Linked DNA regions of Homo sapiens: regions 1, 2, 3, 4, 6 and 7 are each linked to region 5. The links are contacts of gene promoters, found by promoter capture Hi-C in blood cells and fetal thymus (Javierre and others, 2016). All regions are on one chromosome and are shown on one strand. The core of a region is centred on a gene start or on the middle of the fragment in contact, and the rest is flanking DNA. Distances in the headings are between cores, read along the strand shown.

What was found. Contacts are between HindIII fragments. The CHiCAGO score rates a contact against its expected background, and 5 or more counts as called.
Region 1: a contact is called between a fragment that was not itself captured here and the fragment with the promoter of VDAC3 in region 5, in 15 of 17 cell types (activated CD4 T cells, naive B cells, total CD4 T cells and 12 more). The highest score is 17.1, in activated CD4 T cells.
Region 2: a fragment that was not itself captured here is called in contact with the fragment with the promoter of VDAC3 in region 5 in 2 of 17 cell types (megakaryocytes and naive CD8 T cells); the score reaches 8.3 in megakaryocytes.
Region 3: a contact is called between a fragment that was not itself captured here and the fragment with the promoter of VDAC3 in region 5, in 1 of 17 cell types (total CD4 T cells). The highest score is 5.6, in total CD4 T cells.
Region 4: a contact is called between a fragment that was not itself captured here and the fragment with the promoter of VDAC3 in region 5, in 14 of 17 cell types (total CD8 T cells, activated CD4 T cells, non-activated CD4 T cells and 11 more). The highest score is 17.3, in total CD8 T cells.
Region 6: a fragment that was not itself captured here is called in contact with the fragment with the promoter of VDAC3 in region 5 in 10 of 17 cell types (naive B cells, activated CD4 T cells, non-activated CD4 T cells and 7 more); the score reaches 9.6 in naive B cells.
Region 7: a fragment that was not itself captured here is called in contact with the fragment with the promoter of VDAC3 in region 5 in 6 of 17 cell types (naive CD8 T cells, naive B cells, total CD8 T cells and 3 more); the score reaches 8.6 in naive CD8 T cells.

What each region holds. Positions count from the first base shown.
Region 1 is chr8:41,977,237-41,980,667 of GRCh38, reverse strand. KAT6A (lysine acetyltransferase 6A) reads left to right here. Exons shown (of 17, transcript NM_006766.5): 6 at 1,891-2,026; 7 at 3,341-3,431. Among named protein-coding and RNA genes, the nearest start is that of KAT6A-AS1, 73 kb to the left of the region's middle. The HindIII fragment of the contact is 3,193 bases long and covers 1-2,851 here.
Region 2 is chr8:42,802,640-42,806,219 of GRCh38, reverse strand. No RefSeq gene overlaps it. Among named protein-coding and RNA genes, the nearest start is that of CHRNA6, 36 kb to the right of the region's middle. RefSeq lists an enhancer at 2,104-2,263. The HindIII fragment of the contact is 1,993 bases long and covers 799-2,791 here.
Region 3 is chr8:41,919,479-41,922,952 of GRCh38, reverse strand. No RefSeq gene overlaps it. Among named protein-coding and RNA genes, the nearest start is that of ANK1, 120 kb to the right of the region's middle. The HindIII fragment of the contact is 5,707 bases long and covers 1-3,474 here.
Region 4 is chr8:41,958,806-41,962,646 of GRCh38, reverse strand. The region is part of intron 8 of KAT6A (lysine acetyltransferase 6A); the gene reads left to right. Among named protein-coding and RNA genes, the nearest start is that of KAT6A-AS1, 91 kb to the left of the region's middle. The HindIII fragment of the contact is 5,570 bases long and covers 1-3,841 here.
Region 5 is chr8:42,390,603-42,394,313 of GRCh38, reverse strand. It overlaps VDAC3 (voltage dependent anion channel 3), which reads right to left and starts at 2,434. Exons shown (of 10, transcript NM_005662.7): 1 at 2,386-2,434; 2 at 430-469; 3 at 36-104. The coding sequence starts at 102. It also overlaps a transcript of DKK4 not described here. RefSeq lists enhancers at 1,929-2,429, 2,430-2,930 and a silencer at 2,158-2,687. The HindIII fragment of the contact is 9,991 bases long and covers 1,533-3,711 here.
Region 6 is chr8:42,035,958-42,039,630 of GRCh38, reverse strand. The region is part of intron 2 of KAT6A (lysine acetyltransferase 6A); the gene reads left to right. Among named protein-coding and RNA genes, the nearest start is that of KAT6A-AS1, 14 kb to the left of the region's middle. The HindIII fragment of the contact is 516 bases long and covers 1,943-2,458 here.
Region 7 is chr8:42,011,770-42,015,435 of GRCh38, reverse strand. All of the region lies in intron 2 of KAT6A (lysine acetyltransferase 6A), which reads left to right. Among named protein-coding and RNA genes, the nearest start is that of KAT6A-AS1, 38 kb to the left of the region's middle. The HindIII fragment of the contact is 2,762 bases long and covers 1-2,660 here.

The DNA.
Region 1 (3,431 bases), core at 6-2,505, 410 kb after region 5:
ACATTCTTACATGATACGGATTTATTGTTATTTTCAATATCTAGGCATCCATCAATGGTGAAGTGGTTCATTTATACATATTTGCCAGTCTCTAGCTAGAAGATAAAATACTTGCCTTAAATATATCTTGAAATATCTCTTTATTGAAAGGAGGAAATAAAATAGTATTAGGTCGTGTTGATTATATCACTGCTTAGCACTTTTGAGGGCCCTAGAGCTATAGAGATATGGTTTATTCAAAACTTAAAAAAAAAACCTTTTTATGAAATACTTTATGAAATAAAAAGGTTTTTTGTTGTTGTTGTTGTTGTTTTAATGAAATACATTCTGAACAAATAAGTGTCCAGATTGTAAGGGCGCAGCTTAATGTTACTCTTTTCTTTTGATTCCTGTTCATTGAGAGGTATTTAGTTTGGGCATAGTTGCCTCATGGTTGGACTTCCATATTCATATGCTTATAGGTTCTTTAAAAAAAACTTCAGCCAGACCCCTCTTTTTGTCCTATCACAAATTCCATTTTAACTCTGATTTTATAATTTATAGGCTTCTTAAGTAAAATGCCTATAGGATATTTCATAATATTTGTTTGGAAAAAAATTTCCTGTTGATAGAAAATGACTTAACCGTACTTTGTAGTCATGTTAACACTTTAGGTTTTTACTTGAATTCACTTATTCCACCCCCTCACCCATGGAGTCTCACTCTGTCGCCCAGGATCTTGGCTCACTGCAGCCTCCACCTATCAGGTTCAAAGCGATTCTCTGCCTCAGCCTCCCATGTAGCTGGGACTACAGGCGTACCACGACACCTGGCTAATTTTTGTATTTTTAGTAGAGATGGGGTTTTGCCATGTTGGCCAGGCTCGTCTTGAACTCCTGGCCTCAAGTGATCTGTTCGCCTCGGCCTCCCAAAGTGCTGGGATTACAGGCATGAGCCACCGCGCCCAGCCTGAATTCACTTACTGATTGTTACTTTTTGAAACGTCTTCAATTTATAAATACTAAAGAATAAATACCCACTTTTTCCATTTATGTGAAGTCTGAGCAAGGGGCCTTCTAAGAGTCCTAAGAAAGGTTTTTTTTTTGGAGTTGGAATCTCACTCTGTTGCCCAGGCTGGAGCCCACCTTGGCCTCCCAAAGTGTTGGGATTACAGGCGTGAGCCACCATGCCTGGCTTGCAGCTAATGTTTTTTGTAGAGATGCAGTTTCACCATGTTGGCCAGGCTTGTCTCAAACTCCTGACCTCAGGTAATCCGCCCACCTCAGCCCCCCAAAGTGATGGGATTACAGGCATGAGCCACTGTGCCCAGTCAAGAAACATTTCCTTAGGACTCCTTTCTTGTGTGTTTAACTTCTACAAAAGAGATTATATAGCAGCTTTAGGCAGGAAACTTTTTTTTTGAGACGGAGTCTCACTCTGTCGCCCAGGCTGGAATGCAGTGGTGCAATCTCGGCTCACTGCAACCTCCGCCTCCTGGGTTCAAACGATTCTCCTGCCTTAGCCTCCCGAGTAGCTGGGACTACAGGCACGTACCACCATGCCCAGCTAATTTTTGTATTTTTAGTAGAGACAGGGTTTCACCATGTTGGCCAGGCTGGTCTTAAACTCCTGACCTCAGGTGATCCACCCGCCTCAGCCTCAGTGGACTTCAAGTGCAGTCAGTGGACTTCCAGTGCAGGCTTGAAGGTGTATGTGAGTCTCTTCCAATTATTTGTAGAATTTTGTGTGTATATGTTTTAATGTTTATTTTGGATTGGAGGGGGTATTCATCAGATTTTCTAATGACAGTCTTTTACCTGAAAAAGTTAAGATCCTGACTTAAGACTATCTGAAACCTTTCAGTGTATTTATGTCTGTCACACTTCTATGTGGAATTTTATTTTTTTATAGGCATGTGGATATGTCAAATATGTCGACCTAGGAAAAAAGGACGAAAACTTCTACAAAAGAAGGCAGCACAGATAAAACGGCGCTATACTAATCCAATAGGACGTCCAAAAAACAGGTTAAAGAAACAAAACACGGTGTAAGTTGTACTTGTGGCAAGGTGAGGGGAGAAAAGGATAGGGTCTTCTCTATAGTGTAGGATTCACTTGTTTTCTCTATGAAAAAAATTCCATTGTCATATCTGGCACTTTTATATAATAATAATGGCTAACACTTATTCAGCCCTTAATAAGTGCCAGACACTATTCTAAGTGCTTTATATGCATTGAATTGTTTAATTCTGCCAACAACCCAGTGAAATATAGCTGCTGCTGTTACTTTCATTTTTCAAAGGAAGAAACTAAGGCATAGTAAATGTTGAACTGGGATGAAAATCCGAGTAGTCTGGCACCAAAGTCTGACTCTTAACCATTGCTTTATGTTGCTTCTCTTATATAAAAACAGGAAAGAAAAAGTTGTTACTGTGACATTTCACATGTCACTCTCCTGATCTTGTCTCAGTTGTTAATATCTATTAGGTGTACAAATCACTGGATAGGTTCTTCCTATTGAGGTGATGGCTAAGTCCCATTTTTGTGTTCTTTGGATGTAAAATAATTTGAATGTTTTCATCTATTAGCAGAAATCAGAAATTGTGGACTAGAAAGCTGGGCTATGTCTGGAGGAGGTGGGGCAAGATTCAGTAGCTAGTTTTGTCTTTTTAAAAATGTCTGTAGTAACTCACCTTTGATGATATGTAAACGTCTTCAGGCTTGTCAACCTCCCTTTATTATCAAAAGTTTTACTTACTTTTTTTACACGTAAGACTATCTTGAAGGTGATATAACTGAAATGAATGGGCATTAGCAGCCTGAAATGTACAGAACCAATATTGTAGTCTATATTCAAAATCTTAAATCAAGCTTTGATTTTCCTATAAAATGATCTTTTGATTCCTGGCCTTCGAAGAATAACCCATCCTTGTGTTTTAGAGATAAAAGTATAACTTTCAGTTGGTGCAGAGATCACAGTGTAGTAGAACTTTATACCTGGAAGGATCTTAGTTGTTCTTAGTCCAGTTCTCATTTTACAGATGAAGGCACTGACATATGTTTAGAAAAAATGTGATTTGTCCAAGTCGTACAGCTAGTAAGAGAGAATTATGACTAGAACAAGTCTTCTGACTCCTGGCCTGTCATTCTTTGCACTATAAGTAGGCTTCCTGGCAATAGATGTTTCTAATAATAATATTAATTTTCATTCACAGAGTACTATTTATAGTTTGCAGAATATTCTTAATAATATAGATTTTAATAAAGCTGTAGGTTACTTACTAATTATATGTTATGTATTAAAAAGGAACCTTACAAGTATCTTTTTTAATACTTACCCTTTCCCCTGTTTAATTGTTTAGATCAAAAGGTCCCTTCAGCAAAGTTCGAACTGGCCCTGGAAGGGGTAGGAAACGAAAAATCACTCTTTCCAGCCAATCAGCATCATCATCA
Region 2 (3,580 bases), core at 546-3,045, 410 kb before region 5:
CATACAATTATATCATTTATACAAATTTTATGCAAAACAATACCAGTGTTGCTTAGTGATACATACATATGGACAACAATTATAAACAAATGTGTTGGGATGATAAACATATAATTCAAAGTACCGGATACTTTTGAGTAGGAGGGAGATGCAATTAGGGAGGAGTATGCAGGAGATTTCAAACTTCATTAATAATATTTTATTTCTTGGCCAGGAGCGGTGGCTCACACATGTAATCCCAGCACTTTGGGAGGCCGAGGTGGGCGGTTCACTTGAGGTCAGCAGTTCGAGACCAGCCTGGCTAACATGGCGAACCCTCGTCTCTACCAAAAATACAAAAATTAGCCGGGCATGGTGGCATGAGCCTATAGTTCCAGCTACTCGGGAAGCTGAGGTGGAAGAATCACTTGAACCGGGGAGGCGGAGGTTGCAGTGAGCCGAGATCGCGCCACTGCACTCCAGTCTCCTGGGCGACAGAACGAGACTCCGTCTCAAAACAAAACAAAACAAAACAAACAAAAAACATCATAAATGTCAATGCGCACACCACCCAGCTTTAGAAATAATTTCCTCTGTCGCCCAGGAGGCAGTGGCGCGATCTCGGCTCACTGCAGCCTCCGCCTCCCAAGAGTTCAAGCGATTCTCTGCTGCAGCCTCCCGACTAGCTGGAAATACAGACGTGTGCCACCAGGCTAATTTTTAAAAATTATTTTCACAACAACCTCTGGTTCTAATATACCACATCTTATTCAGAATTTTTTCATTGCAAGGAACAGCCAGTAGGTGGCAGGGGAAGCTTGGTATTTGCTGTGTCTGACAAAACAACCTTCCCCCCAACCCGCAATCACATAAACGTAAGGCTTCCTTTAAAGTCACTGATCACATGTCACTTTCCAAAATAAAATGAATTAGCTAAAACCATTGCTTTCCTTATTCATGAATATTTGCATTCTGGTATTCATTGTTCCTAATAGTAACACTATGATCTTTTGAAACATTATTAAACTTTCCAGTGGGGCAACTGGTTTTTATCCCCTGGTGCCACTACAGCAATGCTTCTGTGAAACAGGCTGCCACCGCAGGTTCCGACAACAGGGTTATTGCAGCATGTGCATGGGGGTGCAGTGGGGGAGTGGGACTGCAAAAACGGCAGCCATCTCATGCCTGAGTTCCTACCCATCTCGCTGACCTTGGGTGCAGACCGTCAGGCACATTGCTGAAATCTGCTTTCACACTCACTCCTAAGAACGTTCTTATTTTCTATGGGGGGTGAGGGAGGTGGCAAATGCCACATAAATATCTTGCTTTATGTAGAGCAACTAAGCAATACAGACTAGCTCAGCAAAATGATCTGTCTGCATATTTTCCTAAATAAAACAGCAACCGAAGACATCTTCTATTTTCTGCTTAGGGCCGAATTAGAAAATTATTGCAGGCCGGGTGCGGTGGCTCACGTCTGGAATCCCAGTACTTTGGGAGACCGAGGCGGGCCGATCACTCGAGGTCAGGAGCTCAAGACCATCCTGGCCAACATGGTGAAACCCCACCTCTACTAAAAATACAAAAATTAGCCAGGCATGGTGGTGCATACCTGTAATCCTAGCTACTTGGAGGCTGAGGCATCAGAATCATTTGAACCTGGAAAGCAGAGGCTGCAGTGAGCTGAGATCACGCCACTGCATTCCAGCCTGGGCCACAGAGTGAAACTCCATCTCAGGAAAAAAAGAAAAGAAAAGAAAGGAAAATTATTGTGGGTCATGGTCTGAATCTGGCCGGCGGATGTATTTTGTGGGGCTACTGCCATTTGAAGTGTGTTTTTAATTGGTCAAAATTAAAAATTCAGGAGAGATCACATAGAATTAAGATTTTAGGTTTCTCTTAAAAAAAAAAAAAAGCAAAACATATTCTGGCAATGCCTTTCCATGGGGCCCAGTGAGCAGGAACAGAGCCAGGCTGACCCTGCCTCTGGAAGGGGAATATGTGGCTGTCTCACCCAGGCCTTGCACTCCTGGCTATCTGTTGTTTTGCCCTGACAAAGACTCTCCTTATCCAAACTCTGGCCAGGCTCCTCTGAGCCCTTTCTCCACTGGACCTCAATGTTGGCCTAGCAAGAGTTGAGCAAAACACTGACCCAGTTTCTAGCAGCTTAAAGCCACTTCTCTAGGATGTCCCCAGAGGAAAAATGCCTGCCTGAGGAAACTCAAGCTGCCAAAAGAATTACTGACTCCCAACCTCGGTGGGGGCATAGGAGCCTAACTTGGGTAACACTAGGCCCTCATTCCTGCTTTTCATAACTTTTCACTTCCCTCAGTCTACTGAGCCCCTGCTCACTCACTTCACTGCTCCCTCATTCTCTCTTTAAAAACTCCCAGTCACCTCTGTACAAATCGAGGTTGAGCTCAATTCATGCTAGACTCTCTCTGTTACTGAACCACCAGGGTTTCAGTCTCCGTCCTGCCGCAAGCTGCACAGAAAGCCAATGAACTGGGACCACCAGTAATGCCAAGGAAGAAGGCGTTAATCCAGTGCTATGGCCGAGGAGATGGGGACTCAGCCTCAAATCCATCTCCCTGACCCACTAAAACTAGGGGTTTCTATAGCAGGGAGGGAATGTAACAATGTGTAAGAAAACAGGAACTTGGGAGGGCCAAGGAGGCAATCATGATGAATGAAGGGTCCAACTCATTGTCAGGATGTGGTGATCTGGTGAGTTTCAGTTCCCTGATACTTTTTTTGAGCAGCCTGAAGGTCCATTCCTGAGGAAAGAACTCAGATAAAACAAACGTAAGCTTCAAGCTTTAAGACCAGAAGGGTCCATTTCTGTGTCTATCCAAAAAAAACTGGCTGGGTGCGGTGGCCCGCGCCTGTAATCCCAGCACTTTGGGAGGCCGAGATGGGTGGATCATGAGGTCAGAAGTTCAAGACCAGCCTGGCCAAGATGGTGAAACCCTGTCTCTACTAAAAATACAAAAATTAGCCGGGCGTGGTGGTGGGCGCTTGTAATCCCAGCTACTCAGTAGGCTGAGGCAGAGAATTGCTTGAACCTGGGAGGCAGAGGTTGCAGTGAGCTGAGATCGCGCCACTGTTCTCCAGCCTGGGCAACAGAGCAAGACTCCATCTCAAATCCCCCCCTACCCCAACCAACTTAAATGTCAATAAGACTTTTTTTTTTTTTTTAAAAAACAAGGTTGTGCTCTGTTACCTAGGCTGGAGTACAGTGGTGTAATCGTAGCTCACTATAGCCTCGACCTCCTGGACTCAAGCGATCCTCCCACCACAGCCTTCTGAATAGCTGGGACTACAGGTGTGCATCACCACACGTGGCTAAGTTTTTTATTTTTATTTTTATTTTATTTTGAGACGGAGTTTCGCTCTTGTTGCCCAGGCTGGAGTGCAATGGTGCAATCTCAGCTGACTGCAACCTCTGCCTTCCAGGTTCAAGCGATTCTCCTGCATCAGCCCCCCGAGTAACTGGGATTACAGGCACCCACCACCACGTCCAGGTAATTTTTGTGTATTTTTAGTAGAGATGGGGTTTTGCTATGTTGGCCAAGCTGTTCTCGAACTCCTGACCTCAGGT
Region 3 (3,474 bases), core at 930-3,429, 470 kb after region 5:
TGTCTTTTTCAGAATGTCATATAATTGGAATCATACAGCATGTGACCTTTCAGATTGGCTTCTTTCACTTAGTAATAATATGCATTTAAGTTTCTTCCATGTCTTTTCATAGCCTGACAGCTCATGTCTTGTTAGTGCTAAATAATATTCCATGGTCTGGATGTACCAGTTTATCCATTCATCTACAAAAGGACATCTGGTCCCTGCCAATGCTGGCTATTGTGAACAGAGCTGATAAATGTCTGTTTGCAAGTTTTTGTGTGGAGACAAGTTTTGAATTCATTTATATGAATACCAAGAAGGGCAATTGCTGGATTATATGGTAAGAGAATATTTACTTTTGTAAGAAATTACCAAACTGTCTTCTAAAGTGACTGTACTATTTTGCATTTCCACCAGCAATGAATGAGAGTTCCTGTTGCTCCACATCGTTACCAATATTTGGTGTTGTCAATGTTTTGGATTTTGGTAATTTTTTTTTTTTCACTGAGACATCACTGGATTTTGGTCATTCTAATAGGTGTGTAGTCATGTTTCATTGTTGTTTTAATTGGCATTTCCTTGATGACATATGATGTGGAGCATCTTTTCACATGCTTATTTGCCACCTGTATATCTTCCTTGGCAAAATGTCTGTTCGGGTCTTTTGCCCATTTTTATATTGGGTTGTTCATTTTCTCATCATTGACATTTTTTATTTATTTTTATTTTTATTTTATTTTATTTTAGTTATTTTTTGAGACAGAGTCTTGCTCTGTCGCCGGGCTGGAGTGCGGTGGCATGATCTCGACTCACCACAACCTCTGCCTCCCCGTTCAAGCAATTCTCCTGCCTCAGCTTCCCAAATAGTTGGGATTACAGGTACAGGTTACCATGCCCAGCTAATTTTTTATATTTTTAGTAGAGGTGGGGTTTCACCATGTTGGCCAGGCTGGTCTTGAACTCCTCACCTCAAATGATCTGCCCACTTCGGCCTCCCAAAGTGCTAGGATTAGAGGCGTGAGCCACCGCACCCAGCCACATCATTTACTCTTTTTTTTGAGACGGAATCTCGCTCTATTGCCAGGCTGGAGTGCAGTGGCACAATCTCGGCTCACCACAACCTCCACTTCCTGGATTCAAGTGATTCTCCTGCCTCAGCCTCCCAAGTAGCTGGGACTACAGGTGTGTGCCACCATGCCTGGCTAATTTTTGTATTTTTAGTAGAGACGGGGTTTCCCTATGTTGGCTAGGCTGGTCTTGAACTCTTGACCTTGTGATCCATTTGCCTCAGCCTCCCAAAGTGCTGGGATTACAGGCGTGAGCCACCGTGCCTGGCCCATCATTGACTTTTAAGAGTTCTTTATGTATTTTGGATTCCTTTATCAGATGTGTTATTTGCAAATATGTTCTCCCAGTCTGTGGCTTGTCTTCTCATTCTCTTGTGAGAATTGTCTTTTGCAGACAAAAGTTTTGAACTTTAATGAAGTCCAGCTTATCAATTATTTCTTTCATGAATTGTGCCTTCAATGTTGTATCTAAAAAGTCATTGCTATACCCAAGGTCATCTATGTTTTCTCCTGTTCTAGTAATTCCATAGTTTTGCATTTAGGTCTGTGATCCATTTCAAGTTAATTTTTGTGAACAGTATCAGGTCTGTGTCTAGATTCTTTTTTTTTTGCATGCGGATGTCCAGTTGTTCCAGCACCATTTGTTGAAAATACTATCCTTACTTCATGGTACTGCCTTTGCCCCTTTGTCAAAGATCAGTTGACTATATGTATGTAGGTCTATTTCTGGTCTCTTTATTCTGTTTCATTGATCTATTTTACTATCCTTTCACCAATATCACACTGTCTTTTTTTGAGATGGTGTCTCACTCTGTTGCCCAGGCTGGAGTGCAGTGGTGCGATCTCAGCTCACTGCAACTTTCGCCTCCTGGGCTCAAGTGATTCTCCTGCCTCAGCCTCCTGGGTAGCTGGGATTACAGGTTCCCACCACTGCACTTGGCTAATTTTTGTATTTTTAGTAGAGATGGGATTTCACCATGTTGGCCAGGCTGGTCTCAAACTCCTGACCTCAAGTGATCTGCCCACCTCGGCCTCCCAAACTGCTGGGATTACAGGCGTGAGCCACCATGCCTGGCCACACACTGTCCTTATATTGTTGCTTTATAGCAAGTCTTGAAGTCAGATGGTGTCAATCCTCCAATTTTGTTTTTCTCTTTCAATATTGGGTTGGTTATTTGGGTCTTTTGCCTGTACACTTTAGGATCAGTTTTTCAATAATCCACAAAATACCTTGCTGGGATTTTAATTGGGATTGCATTGAGTCTATAGATCAAGTTGGGAAGAACTGACATCTTGACAATATTGAGTCTTTCCTTCTATGAAATGAATATCTCTCAATTTATTTATTTCTTCTTTTTTTCATCAGCGTTTTGAAGTTTTCCTCATATGGATCTTGTACATATTTTGTTAGATTAAGAACTAAGTATTTCAGTTGGGGGGATGCTAATGTAAATAGTGATATGTTTTTAATTTTGAATTCTACTTGTTTATTGCTGGTATATTGGAAAGTACATAGTGGGAGATTTTGCTGACTCTTCTAGGTGTATGACAGAATAGCAGACAAATCAATCATGATATAAAAGAATTGAACAGGTGTAGTAAAATTGTCCTAATGGACAAATATAAAACATAACAAAATATGCAATATCTTTAAAAATTGACCATACATACAGCAATAAAACATATTTCAACAAATATGAAAAGATTGAAATCACACAGAGTAAGTCTTCTGACTATAATGTGAATGTGCTAGAAATCTATTTAAAAAGGCCAGGCGCAGTGGCTCACACATGTAATCCTAGCACTTTGGGAGGCCGAGGCGGATGGATCACCTGAGGTCAGGAGTTCAAGACCAGCCTGGCCAACATGGTGAAACCCCATCTCTACTAAAAATACAAAATTAGCCGGGCATGGTGGCACATGCCTGTAATCCCAGCTACTTGGGAGGCTGAGGCAGGAGAATCACTTGAACCTGGGAGGCAAAGGTTTCAGTGAGCTCAGATTGTGCCATTGCACTCTAGCCTGGGCAACAAGAGCGAAACTCCATCTCAAAAAAAAAAAAAAAAAAAAAAAACTGGAAAATTCCCAGATATTTAGAAATTAAGAAATGCTTTTAGATAATTAATGAGCCAAAGAAGACTAGAAATTAAAAAACATGCCTGGGCGCAGTGGCTGACACCTGTAATCCCAGCACTTTGGTAGGCTGAGGCGGGCAGAACACGAGTTCAAGAGATCAGGACCATCCTGGCCAACATGGTGAAATCCCCTCTCTACTAAAAATTAGCTGGGCGTGGTGGCACACATCTGTAGTCCCAGCTGCTTGGGAGGGTGAGGCAGGATAAGTGCTTGAACCTGGGAGGCGGAGGTTGCAGTGAGCCGAGATCGCGCCACTGCACTCCAGCCTGGCGACAGAGCAAGACTCCAT
Region 4 (3,841 bases), core at 796-3,295, 430 kb after region 5:
TAACAGGATTTCTCTGGCTCCTGTGTAGATTGAGGGGGCGGGGGGCAGTATACAAGCAGGGAGAACTTTGGGAAACTCTTGAAATTATTGAAGTAAGAGACATGGTGTTTGGATCATGGTGGTAGTGGTGGAATTGGAATTCTGAGTATGTTTTGAAGGTAGACCCATTGGGATATGTTGATGCATTGTGAAAGCAGGGAGTCCGAGACGATGCCAGAACACAGTTGGAAGACGGAGTTGCCATCTACTGAGATGGGGAAATAGGAAGAGCACATTTGGGGAAAAGATTTAGGAGTTTGATTTTGGATGTGTTAAACCTGATGTGAGAGGGGATATCAAGTAGATAGTGGGATATGTGTCTCTGGAGTTCAAAGAACAGGTCTGGGCTGAAATTTTCAATTCAGGACTCACCAGCAAGTAGGTTGTTTTTTTGAAAAATGAGACTAGATGAGATCACCAAGGGAGAAGAGAAGAACTTTGAGTCTAGGTTATTCCAACTTTTAGAGATTGGAGAAACTGAGAAGGAATGGCCAGTGAAGTAGGAAAAAAAACATGAAGGTGTAGTTCCTTAGAAGCTAAGTGAAGAATGTGTTGTAAGAAGGAAGGATCAGTTTTTAAATTCTGCAAATAGGCCAAGTAAGAAGAGAACTGAAAATTGACTGTCCAGCTTAGCAACAAGGAAGTAATCTTGAGAAACTGTTTCCATGATGGGGACAGGGGAGGGTGAAGAGATAATTGGAGTGGTTTCAAGAAAGAATGGAAGGAGAAATTGGTTATAGTAGTAATATGTGGCCATTGTTTTGAGGTTTTTTACAGTAATTAGGAGCAGAGAAAGGGAGAGTTGGATAGAGCTGTGAGGGCTAAAGAAGATACTTTTTTTTTTTTTTTTTTTTTTGAGATGGAGTCTCGCTCTGTCACCAGGCTGGAGTGCAGTGGCACCATCTCGGCTCATTGCAACCGCCACGTCCCGGGTTCAAGGGATTCTCCTGCCTCAGCCTCCCGAGTAGCTGGTACTACAGGTGTGCGCCACCACTCCCAACTAATTTTTCTATTTTTAGTAGGGACAGGGTTTCACCATGTTGGCCAGGATGGTCTCGATCTCTTGACCTTGTGACCCGCCCACCTTGGCCTCCCAAAGTGTTAGGATTACAGGGGTGAGCCACCATGCCCACACACCCCTCTCCCCCTTTTTAAAATATGGAATGAATAACAGCTGTTTGTATGCTGATGGAATGCTCTGGTAGAGGGAAAGCTGATGATGCAGAAGATAGGAGGGGAACTGCTGGGTGATGTTCTTTGGCTAGGGAGCAGGAAGATGTTATCTCATGCACAAACGGAAGCCGTGGGCTTAGGAGCTCAATCTTTAGCCATAGTATTGGTGAAAGGCAGGATGTGTGGCACAAAGGTGGAGGCAGACAGATGTGGGTGGGAAAAATTGCAGAAGTTTTCTTTTGATTTTGTCCAGTTTAGTGCAGTAGGAAGCAAAAGCATTGGCTGAAAGTGAAGGTGGAGTAAGCAGTGTTGGAGGCTTGAGCAGAGGAGAAAGGGTGCAGTTGTCTTTCAGAACGGGAGAGTGAATGGAGTAGGAAGCATCAGGACCTGCTTGAGGTTTGTGGGTAGGTGTATAATGTGAGACTGGGTAGCATGATTCTCTGTTTTTCTCCACCCATATTCACATTAAGGTAATAACTTCGATTATGTGAAGAGTTGAATTTAACAGGGGTTAGGATTTTGTTGTGAAATTAGAAGAGAAACTAGAGAGTTAAAGGTCTATGCAAAGGGTGGAATTACAGGGAAAAAGACCTTAGAATCTAAGCTGCGTAGAGAGAAAGGAGGGTGTGGGGAGAGTGGAAAGCTGATGGAAGCACTGGATTATGGGTCCTCCGGATGGAAAAGGTAAGATGGCCGAGGACAGAATTCTAGATTTTGTCAATATTTAATGGTAAAAGAATTAGCAAAGGAGATGGATAAAGAGAAGTCTGAGTGTAGAGCAAAAAGGCTTAGGAAAAGGGAAAGATAGGTCACAATATCCAGAATCCTGAAATTTAAGGAGTCCTGAAAATTTGAAAAAAAATAATTGTGGTAAAATATACATAATGTAAAAGTTATTTTAACCAGACTTTTTTTTTTTTTTTTTTTTGAGACGGAGTCTTACTCTGTCACCCAGGCTGGAGTACAGCGGCGTCATCTTGGCTCACTGCAAGCTCCGCCTCCCGGGTTCTCGCCATTCTTTGTATTTTTAGTAGAGACGGGGTTTCACCTTGCTAGCCAGGATGGTCTCGATCGTGATCCGCCGGCCTTGGCCTCCCAAAGTGCTGGGATTACAGGCATGAGCCACTGCGCCCGGCCTAACCAGACCATTTTTAAGTGTACAATTCAGTGGCATTAAAGACATTCACCTTGTTGTGCAATCATCACCATCATCTATTTCCAGAACTTTTTTATCTTGCAAAACTGGAACTCTGTACCCATTAAACAACTCCCAACCCCCCACCCCTACCCCCACCCCTGGTAAGCATCATTCTGTCTTCTGCCTTTATTAATTTGTCTACTCTAGGTACCATAAGTAGAATTATACAATATTTGTCCTTTTGTGTCTGGCTGTTTCACTTAGCATAATGTCCCCAAGGTTCATATGTATTTTAGCCTGTGTCAGAATTGCCTTCCTTGTATTTTTTTTTTTTTTCTTTAAAGACAGAGTCTTGCACTGTTGCCCAGGCTGGAGTGCAGTTGCGCGATCTTGGCTCACTGCAACCTCTGCCTCCCGGGTTCAAGTGTTTCTTCTGCCTCAGCCTCCCGAGTAGCTGGGACTACAGGCATGTGCCATACACCCAGCTAATTATTGTATTTTTAGTAGAGACGGGGTTTCACCACGTTGGCCAGGATGGTCTCAATCTCTTGACCTCATGATCTGCCCACCTTGGCCTCCCAGAGTGCTGGGATTACAGGCGTGAGCCACCAGCGCCCAACCATTGCCTTCCTTTTTAAGGCTGGAGAATATTCCATTGTACGTATGTACCACATTTGGTTTATCCATTCATCTGTCAGTGGATACTTGGGTTGTAAATAGTGCTGCTATGAACATGAGTATGCAAATAGATACCCATATACAAAGAACTGCTTTCAGTTCTGTGGGGTCTATAATCAGCAGTGGAATTGCTAGATTATGTGGTAATTCTGTTTACTTTTTTGAGGAACCATCATACTGTTTTCCACAGCAGCTGTGCCATTTTGTATTCCCGCCAGCAATGGGACAAGGGTTCTGATTTTTCCACATCTTCACCAACATCTGTTATTTTCTGGTGTTTTGCATTTAAAAATAATAACCATCCTAATGGGTGTGAAGTAGTATCTGATTGTGGTTTGATTTACATTTTCCTAATTATTAGTGATGTTGAGCATCTTTTCATGAGCTTATTGGCCATCTGTATATCTTCTTTGGAGAATGGAAAGAAACTTTTCCAACTTTTTTTTTTTTTTTTTTTTTCGAGACAGTCTGGCTCTGTCACCCAGGCTGGAGTGCAGTGGCGCGATCTGGGCTCATTGCAAGCTCTGCCTCCTGGGTTCACCCCATTCTCCTGCCTCAGCCTCTGAGTAGCTGGGACTACAGGTGCCCGCCACCAAGCTCCTCAGCTAATTTTTTGTATTTTTAGTAGAGATGGGGTTTCACCTTGTTAGCCAGGATGGTCTCGATCTCCTGACCTCGTGATCCGCCCACCTCAGCCTCCCAGAGTGCTGGGATTACAGGCGTGAGCCACCACGCCCGGCCTTTTCTAACTCATTTTGCAATAAAGTCCCACTTGACCTGAACTGAGTTACTGACAAAAACATGATCTGAGCT
Region 5 (3,711 bases), core at 1,185-3,684:
TACCCCAAACTGGAAAGTTACAATAGCATACTTACCATATCCTTTGTTGAAGACATCCTTAGCAGCCTTTCCTAGGTCACAGTACGTTGGTGTGTTACACATATCTTATAAAGAAAAACAGGGCAAAGGAATAAAAATAACCATTTAGTATTTATTCACCCACAGTTCTTCTGCTGTTTAATCCTGTGAGAAGGGGTATACAGTTTTCTCTTCCTGTGTATCATTAATGCTTTAATGCAATCAAAGGTATGAGACAGCAGTCTGCTCCTTAAAAAACAGACCTTTCCAGAATACTGAGAATAAAACAGTTTTCCCGTGAGATTCAGAGGTCATCTTTCTGATTGCATTTCAAAGAAAAGTAAGTTCTTACAGGATGAAAAAGATGCTATGTTAAACTGGACTTCTTTTAAAAATATATGCAAAATTTACCTTAGAAAAATCTCTCTCAGGCTCTTATGAAACCAAAGACCTGTATAAGACAACAATGGAAATTTTTAAAGAAACTGTTAAAAGATGCAATCAAAATCCTCAGGGTTAACATTTTTCTCCTCTGAAATTCAGTTCTTAAAATAAGAATTTACCATACGAATTGAAGTGTATTCATCTAGAATATATCTTCTCTCAAAGCTCTTCTTAAAGTGCTATAATTTTACCCATTAACCAGAAATATGACAGATTCTACCTGCAGCAACCTGCTTACCAAAAGTTAGTGTAAACTCTGAAGTTAAAGCCTTCAAAAACCTCAGGTGCCTTGATTTTTCATCTTGCCTACTAAAAATCTGCCCAGCTTTGCTACTGGTAATATGACCCTCATATCAAATTCTCAGAGCTATCAACACTGCTGATTATCTCATTCCTTTGCCCTCTTTGTATCATGGGAAATCTTTCTGCAGCAGGTTCTTCTGTATTCCTCTCGCAGACTCAAAAGCTATGTCTAACCAATTACAGAGCCACCTCTAGCAGTGCCATTAGCCCATATGTCAGAAAAATCCAGAGTACCAGCTAGCCCTTGCAATTGCTACGCCTGAATGATCTACACATTTAAGCTCATATTTATTTATATATAGCCCAGCTCTTAATCCAGACTTCTGCTAAGCTTCTGCCTACCCCATCATACCAAACATATACATATGATGCACTTAAATGGGAATGCATTTAAGTTTTGTTCCTTAACATAAACCTGTCAAATATGACAGACACTATGATATAAAGAGACTAGTATAAAAAACTAAAAAGAAAAAAAAATTAAAGAGGAAACGGTAGTATAAATGTACTGACTCATTCCATAGTAAAACTTTGCTCTAAGCTACCAGGTTTCATAATTCACTTACAGAACGATTATTTTACAATTCAATCCCTTGTACTAAAGTGATCAATTCTAGGCTTTTTATATTATCCCAATTGCAATTTGATATTACTCTTTATGATTACAACTGATGTTGATATTTGTTGAAATTTTGCCAGAAGTCTGTAATTTGGGAAGTAAGTATAGAAATGCAGGCAGTATATATTGAAATAGAAATGTTAAAGCTTTACAGTCTGGTTTTTCATACTGCCGAGAAAAGATACACTTAAATGTTTAGAAGCACTATATATACGTCTAGGGACTATTTACAATATTTCAGCATTTTGTTTTGTTATTTTTCAAAACCAGTACGAGATACTATGCAAAAGTCACGTAGCTGGTTTAGTATACTAACTGACCTCAATTCTGCCTAGTTCAAGCTGACTTTTTCAGGCCTATGACTCTGATGGGAAATGCACTGCTAGTATGATCAAGCAAAAATCGAGAACAACAGAAACTTCATGTTCCTCGAGAGTAAAGCTACAACCACACGTCTCCACCAGCTCTACAGAATGCACCTGCCCATAGATGTGCACACTGCACAGAGGCTGCAGGAGACGCAGACGGGGAAAGGCGTTAAGCCGGTTGCTACTGCTTTACAAAGCCACTAACTTGACAGCCAGTACAGAGCCCTTTTCGTTCCTCGCTTCTCCGTTTTGAATTGCACGCAGGGCACCCTCCCTCGGCCGTAAGGAGGGGGCAGGGGCGGGCGGGAGATGGGTGTGGGGTTCGAGGATCCAACTTCCCTAGAACCGATCTCCTTTCTAGCTGACCCCTGGGAGGAAAGTGCGGTCCACACGCCGGCGGGATAGGTCGCTGCCCGCGCCCGGAGGCCACTTGCCCCGCCGTGCTGCGGCTCCATCGCCTGAGGTGGCCCGGGCGGGTCCCGGCGGGAGCGAGCGGCCCCGGCCCCCCGCGCCCCGGTAGCCTGCTCCCTGCCCACAGAGCCTCCGTTAGGCCCGCCTCCCGCCTGGCGCTCTGCTCGGCCGCGGCCCACCGCTCTCCGGGACTGGAGCCCGCGCGGCCTCAGCTCTCCTCACCTCCACCCCGAGGGCCTGTCTCTGCTCCGCCAGGGCAACGCTGAAGGTCTTCAAACCAACGCCGTCCGCGCCTGCGCAGCCTCGCACCCCCAGCCGCGCCTGCGCGCCGCCCCTCCCCGAGAGCGCCTGTGCGCCGGCGTGTCGCGCCACGGTCGCGCGCTTCGGAGCAAGGCGCGGAGACGAACAGCCGGGCCAAGCCAGCACCACCAACTGTCCGGCTCCGCAGCGCGCGTGCGCAGGAGGGCTCGGTGTGGACAGTGAGGTTGACTGGGGGCCCAAGAGGCTGGGGACCGCACCTGTGCCCTTGAGGGGACTCATTCTCGCGAGAATGCGCGAGGTTGCTAGTTAACTGTTGCCATGGGTGCGGCCGCGAAAAGGCCGCAGGGTGCCGGACCCCAGGTTTGAGGCATGCCGCAGGCCGGAGTGTAGTGGCGCGATCTTGGCTCACTGGAGCCTCGACCTCCTGGGCTCAAGCCGTCCTCCTGCCTAAGCCTCCTGAGTAGGAGGGTCCACAGAAGCGCGCCACCACGCCCGGCTAATTTAATTTTTTTTTTTTTTTTTTTTTGGTAAAGACGGGAATCTCCCTATGTTTCCAGGCTGGTCTCGAACTCCACGGCATAAGTGATCCGCCCGCCTGCGCCTACCAGAGTGCTGGGATCACAGGCCTGAGCCCACGCCCAGCCTCTTATGGGAATTTCATTTCAGACTGACCAGACTTCAAGAGTGTCACTCTTAGGTCATCTCGTCTTAAGGATGAGAATACACAGGTCCCCAGGGAGTAAGTGATTGATTCAAGATCCCACAAGTAGTGAGAGATGATAATTCAAAGGGGCAGAGGATGTGGAGGAGAAAAAGCTCTTCTGTAGAGGAGAAGACCAACTAATAAAGGTAGAATAGATGACAGAAATAGAAAATCATCGTCTTGGAACCACCATGATAATAATTGATTCAGGCTGAAATGATCAGTGGACCGTTGAGGATGTTCATATGGTTTCAAAGTATCACCCCCATAGATTACTCACTAAAGAGAAAAGGGTACCTTCACATCAAAGAGACTGATCAAACGGGGGATGGTAGGGACTGACATATGCCCCTGGTGTGAGGCACAGAGAGGGACACAGAGATAATATTCTTGTAAAAGTGTGTAATTTGCCTCTCTTCAGGACGAAACAATCAGGCAAATCCAAACTGAGAGACCTGCAAGACAACTGCCCAGTCTTCAAAAATGTCAGTTTCATGAAAGATTAGGAAAAAGGCTAGTGAACTGCTCTAGGTTAAAGGAAGCAGCCTGTAATCCCAGCACTTTGGGAGGCAGAGGCGGGCGGA
Region 6 (3,673 bases), core at 951-3,450, 350 kb after region 5:
GTTTTTTCTTTAGTTCATCCTGGACTTGTGGGCCAATACTTTTTTGTTATGTTTAATACTAGGAGAGCAAATACATAACAGGAACTGTGATGAATCTGGAAAGAAAATTTATATCATTCAGTCTTCCTGAAGCTGTAAGAATCTCCTTAACATCTATTAGATTTATTTTCTCTTTGCATTTAAAGTTTTGGAGAAAATATCTTTGTCATACTGACTTGGTTCTTAGCTATGTAAGAGGACTAAATCTAGGTGCGGAGTTTGCTGGTTTAAATAGAATTAAAAATTTATTTTTTTCTGGTGACCTGGAGAGTGTTTCTTAAAATTATAATAATGAATACTTTTCATGCTCTGATTTATGTATAGGAATTATTAAGAGCTTCACTCTGATAAAGTTATTTACCACTTGGCTACTCAGGGGTGGAGTCATTTCACAAAGGATCTGCAGCGAATGAATTAGACCAGGAGTAACTTCACCCTTCTGCTTGTCCCAGCTGGAGCAGGATTAGGACTCATTCAGCTGCAGCTGGTTCCCAGGAAAATGAAAGCAGTTCCTTCTGGTTTTTTCCTTTCATATGAAAGTCATAGTTCCCAGCAGATGGCTTTCATCAGCCCTGTACATGTATCTGTAAATTCAAGGCCAAGGAATTATTTTCAACTTCATTAGGGAACAGGTGAAGAAACCATTTGTAGTGTGGCACTATTTTATTAGGAGTTGAAATTAAGCATAGAGATTATAGTAGTATGCCATTCTGGGTCAAAATAGTTTTTAACTGTCAGCAATTTAAAGAAAAAAAAAGACTGCTAAGGAAAAGTAAGTCTGGCTGTAGTGTTGATTGAGGTATCTTTTATGGTTGAATTGTATTATGCTTACGAAACATAGATTATTAGAAAAAAAGACTTGTATCTTCTGCATTGTGTAGAATGTTCAGCCAGTAGCAATCTTGGATCACAGTGATTCTAATCTGATTTCACAAATAATAGGGAAATTTGAGAGCCAAAGAGGTTGAAGTGTCTTGTCCAGTGCCACACAGCCAGTTAATACCATCTGGAAGAATTGGTCAGGCCCTTCTCAATTTTGTGCTTTTTTCATTATGCTGTAGTACTGCTTTATAGTATTAGAGAGCAGTGAGCCTAAAATAATTTAGTTAGAATTCTCTTCCTTAATGGAAACCATAGAATAAACCTTGTCTAGAGAATATTGGTGGTATCGTAAACCACAAATATATAAATCTGCTATTTCAGTGTGTGAAAATAGCTATACACTCTTGTTAGAGTTTTGAAACAACTTTTTGGGAAAAGACTGCTTTCTTATGGCCCAAGTTAGAGGAATCAAGGTTTTCTTATGTTGTTGGCTAAATATTAGAAGGGGAACATGTTGAGCTACCTTAATGCTGGAAGAAAAAGTACTCCTTGAGTTTTGGGAAAAAAAGTCCATTTAAAGGTAAGTCTAATTTTCAGTAGGTCTGCAACACAAATGACCTCTGAGTGACTTGGATCATTGGTTAGAATTTAAAATTCTTGAGACTGAGCTAGAGATAGCAAGGTACAAACCTTTCTATTAATTAATGAAGTAATTTTTACCAAAGACATTAAATATGGGTGGACCAAAAGTGTATAGTCTAGCACTTCTATAAACATAGTGTCTGGGAGGAGCTTGAGAGATTTGTAATGTTACTTGTAAACAGACCGTGTGGGGAAGACCGCAGACAGCACATCATTTTTTGTCTTTATTGGTCTTTATGACTAACACTTCATCTCTGCATCACTTCTGCTTTGCTGTAAAACTTAGCAAGTACATTAGGATAGTGGCAAATAAAGATTAAGATTGAGGACAGATGTTTGTAAAATAACTGGGCGATTTTAAGATTATAGGTGTAACTTGTTAAGAAGAAGATAACTGGTGTGGAAATAAAATCTGGCAGCCAAAAAAAAAAAAAAAGCTTTCAATGTGTTAAAGAAGATAGTTGCTTCTTTTGCCGTTTACCTTTTATGTAGAATAGGTGATTCCGCAGATCTAGAGGTGTTGTCAGACTTGTACTATGGGCTGCGTTTTCCTCCAGGGAATTGTGAACTGTAGTTGACCTGAAGAGCTGCTAAGTGTTGGTTTTTAATTCTTTGAGCTTAGTAAAGTCTAGGTTCCTTTTTTCTTAGTCATTGGGTACAGTGAAGCATTTAACTCCTGAGTTTTCTAGAACCTTTAACAGAACTCTCAGAAACATTATTACTATTTTTGTGTGTGGAGTGTGATTCTGTACTTTAATAGTTTCCCAATTTTTCTATTCAGGGCATCTTTAAATATCTAACTTACTATTTAAACCCTCTTTCACCATTTTCCTGCCTTACTTTTTTCCATGCCACTCAGTTTTTCTTTAATTCTGTAACATAAATCCAAAGCCTTATTCTTTGGAAAGCAGTGGTACTTGGCACTAAATTCACTTTAGCATTACCTGAGGAAGCTTAAAAAATAAATACCAAACTAATTAAATTTGACTAGTAGTGAGGCCCAGGTTTCAGTTTTTTTTATTTTTTATTTTTTTAAGAATGTTTATCTGATGTGCAGCTGGGGTTGAGAACCATTGCTCTAATGCTTAGAACCAACATCTCTGTAGTGGGGACTGGCTAAGAGAGTCAGAAGACAGAAGAAGCAGGTACTTTTTAACCTCATAATTGACATTCAAACAAATGATGAAATAGCATGCTTCACACACACCCTCATGAACACACTTTGGACCCAGGACAGTGTACTTCTGGAAATGTACATTCTGTTTTATTGTCCTCCCTGGCTATAACTACTCTAATCTTCCACCTTTCTTTCTCCTTACCCTCACTGCTTTATCTCAAGAAGATCTTGTGTGGTATATAGTTGCGAGAAAGTTACCTGCATGATTCCGACAGGTGCCCTGCCATCACTCTAATGCTGTTCTCATTGCTTGGCCTTATGGCACATTCTCACTCACTCACTACTCCTGCATCATGTTGGCAAACTCCAGCCATTTACCACCTTCTCCTTTTTTTTTTGAGTTGGAGTCTTGCTCTGTCACCCAGGCTGGAGTGCAGTGGTGCGATCTCTGCTCACTGCAACCTCCATCTCCTGGGTTCAAGCGATTCTTCTGCCTCAGCCTCCCAAGCAGCTGGGATTACAGGTGCCTGCTACCACCCCTGGCTAATTTTTGTATTTTTTTAGTGGAGACGGGGTTTCATCATGTTGGCTAGGCTGGTCTTGAACTCCTGACCTCAGGTGATCTGCCCACCTTGGCCTCCCAAAGTGCTGGGATTACAGGCATGAGCCATCGTGCCCAACCTCTCTGCTTTAACTTTGGGGAAAATCTCATGACCATGTGGTGGGATGCCACTTACAAATTTGTGGCCTCCAATCTGAGCTCTGCCCTCTGCTTGAAGATGTATGTCTGTGTATAGTCTGTTCTGTCTGCAGAAATTCAGTATTTCTTCCCACCTTTTTTTCTCATTTTCAGTAGATACTCCCATATGCTACATCATAGAGATAATGGAATCTGTCCAATTGAGCTCATTGAGTTTATACCCCTCTCATGCCATCCTAAATACATCTGTGCTTATTTCTGCCCGCTTTGCTACCTTGTCATAGGACAGTGAAAGAAGTGTGAAAGGCTCATCTCTCCATTCTTTTTCAGGACCCCATTCTCTGCTACCTCAG
Region 7 (3,666 bases), core at 30-2,529, 380 kb after region 5:
TTGTATTCTGAACTTAAGGCAAGAAAGACTTTGTATAGGATCTGCTTTTAAGTGCTGTCGTGGTATCTGGAAAGTTGTTTGCATAGTTACCTCCTTATCTGTCTGTCCTCTTGGCTTCCTAGTTCTGCTTTCCCCCCAGCTCATCCATGTTGAAGGGATCTGGCTATAGATTGCAACTCTGCTTACTGTAGCATAGGGCTGCCAGCTTGGTAGTCCGGATTCTTTTTAGCACAGAAGGGGCATGAGACCACATTGGACATATTACTTGTGAGCTTTGAGAAGTTTTTGTGGATAACATTGGCAGACAACCTCTGACTTTGACATTATAGCCTACTCTGTTATATTGTTCTCCTCTCTTCTGCCTTACTATCTCCCTTCATGCACTGGTTATCCCATTTGAAATAGTGTTTCTGGAGGCTTAAAGATGAGGAGTAGTTGAACAGTTATGGACAGTGATTTCTCAGCTCCTTAGAGAACTGAACCCATAATCTATCCTTTCCTAGCGTAATCCTGAACCTGTAACTACATTTAATAACTGCATGTACCGAAGTATTTCAAGTAATCCTGAACCTGTAACTACATGTAATAACTGCATGTACCGAAGTATTTCATTGGATCACATACTGCTCCAGCTTCTACTTCAGTTTCTACCTCCCTTGTATATGAGGTCACTTATTCTAGTTGAGTAATATCTCTGAATTTCTTCCTTTATTTATTAAAAAAGTGCTAATATGCTGTCCTCCGAGCCCCATTTAATCTTTTTCTGTTTTCTTATTTTCCTTGCTTCTCTTTAGCCCCCCGATCTGTCCTTGTCTTATTGCTGTAACCTGCTGCCCCTTATTGATCATACAGTGGATTGAAGGTATATTTGTTGACTTAATTATCTATGTGTTTTAAGAAACTGGTTGCCTGAGGCATTTCTGCGTGTGTGTTTTAAAAGAGAGCATAGCCTCTTGATCTCAAGCCAAAAATGTGGTTCATTTAACTGGTATTTTATCTTCAATTGATTTTTCTGTGGAGTTTGGCCTTGGATATATATAGTATGGGTATAGATGATTGTGAATGGCTTATAATAGCTGATTACAGAGTATGGCCCAGAAATTCTTTTGCTTTGTACTGTGTATGGAACAGTTTGGTATGAAAATTAACTGTAGCAAAAGCATAGTTAACTTTAATAGCATATCTGGCATCTCTTTTCTCACACATCACGTCTAGTACAGTAGCAAATCCTTTTGGCTCTGCCCCTTAGAACAGGGGTTAGCAAATTATGGCCCCCACCTCTTTATAGTTCATGAGCTAAAAATGTTTTTTTTTTAACAATTCTAAATGGTTGAAAAATATTAAAATAATATTTCAAACACATGCAAATCATATGTAATTCAGATTTCAGTGTCCATAAGTAAAGTTGTATTGGAGCACAGCCACACTTGTTTTCGTTTCTGTGTTGTCCAAGGCTTCTTTCACGGTACCGCGGCAGACTTGAGTGGTTTTAACAGAGACCCTGTGACCTCAGAACTGAATATATTTACTGTCTGGTCTTTACAAACAGTTTGCCAAACCCTGCTCTGTTGTATATCCAGAATCTAGCACTTTTTACTTCCCTCTTGACTAAGTCATTGTTCTTGCCTCCTAATTGAACTCCTTGCTTCTGTTCTTGTCCCTTTAAATCTGCAGTCAGTGGAGTGATCTTTTTAGAAAGTAAACCACCCTCTGTTTAGATAAAATAGGTTAATAAATAAGTAAATATCAAGGACAGTTTTGAATGAAAATTATAGAAGGACCATTAATCTTGGTTAGGATAGGAGCAAGGAACCCCATATATTGTGTTTAAATGCTGATGAATACAGAAGTGACCATACATATGTGTGCATGAGCATTTGTAATTGAAAAAAAGCAGAGCCAAGGCCGGGCGTGGTGGCTTACGCCTGTAATCCCAGCACTTTGGGAGGCCAAGGCGGGTGGATCATGAGGTCAAGAGATGGAGACCATCCTGGCCAACATGGTGAAACCCCAACTCTACTAAAAAATACAAAAATTAGCTGGGTTTGGTGGCATGCGCGGCTGAGACAGGAGAATCGCTTGAACCCGGGAGGCGGAGGTTGCAGTGAGCCAAGATCGCGCCACTGCACTCCAGCCTGGCAACAGAGCGAGACTCCATCTAAAAAAAAAAAAAAAGAAAGAAAGAAAAATGACAGAGCCACCTCCCTCTGTATTGCTATATTTATTTATCTATAAATTTACATGCAATAATGCATTCTTTTCTGTGTCTACTTTTATGAGTTTTGATAAATGGATAGAGTTATATAACCAATCACCACAATCAAGATATAGGAAAGATCCATTATCCACTAAAAAAAAAAAAAAACTTGACTTTTGTAGTCATCACCCTCCCCCAACCCTGGCAAACCACTGAGCTATTATTCTCCCTATAATATTACATTTTCCAGACTGTCATATAAATGGAATCAAGTATAGTTTTTTAAGTTTGGCTTATTTCATTTGGCATCATGCATTTGGGATTCATCCATGTAGTTGTCAATAGTTTGTTCCTTTTTGTTGCTGAGTAGTACTCCATGGTGTGGTAGGTACACCATAGTTTGTTTATCTCTTCCCCTATTGAGGGACATTTGGTTTCAGTTTTTGGCAATTATGAATAAGCTTTCTATAAACATTCATATATAGGTTTTTGTGTGAATATAGTACAGTAGTTTCCTGTGGCTGCTGTAAAAAATTGCGAAACTGGATAGCTTTAAAACAGCAGAAATTTATTCCCTCACTATCCTGAGGGTCGGAAGTCTGAAATTAGTATTTCTGGACTGAACTCAAAGTGTTGGCAGGGACACATTGCCCCTGCAGGCATTCTGAGCTTCTGGTGGCTCTTGGCATTTCTTGGCTTGTGGTCAGCAGCAGCATCACTCCCATCTCTGCCTCTTCACATCATGTCTTCTCCTTTGTGTGTGTGTCACCTGTTCCTCTGCTTCTCTAGGGACACTTGTCACAACATGTATGGCCTGCTTAGATAATCCAGGATAACCCCCCCATCTCAAAATTCTTAATTTAATCACACTTGTGAAGACCCTTTTCCCAAATAAAATTATCCTTTACAGGTTCGAAGGATTAGGATGAGCTGTCTGTGGGGGATTTCAGTCTACTACTCTAGGTTTTCATTTGACTTGGGCAGATACCTAGGAGGTGTGTTGCTGGGTTGTATGGTAATGGTATGTTTAACTTTTATAAGAAACTGCTAAGCTGTTTTCCATAGTGGCTGTACTGTTTTGCATGCTTACCAGCTATGTATGAGTATCTCATTTATTCAGACTCCTCACTGGTACTTGATATTGTCATTTTAAAAAGCCGTTCTAATAGATAGTGGTATTTCATTGTGATTTTAATTTGCATTTCCCTAACGATTGGTTGTGTGAAGCATCTTTTCATGTGTTTTATGTACATATCTTCTTTGGTGAAGTGTCTCTTCAAGTAGTTTGCCTATCTTTTTCAGGGGGTTGGATTTCCTCTTTGTTATTCTTTTTTTTTTTTTTTCCTCTTCTTTTTTTCCCCACACCTCTGTTCTTCCTAAAGTTAGTTTTGGGCTCCAGGGAATTGGGAAGATATTTGTGCTTTTATAATCCTCTGTATGCCTCAATATTTCCTTGCCACAAACTTGTT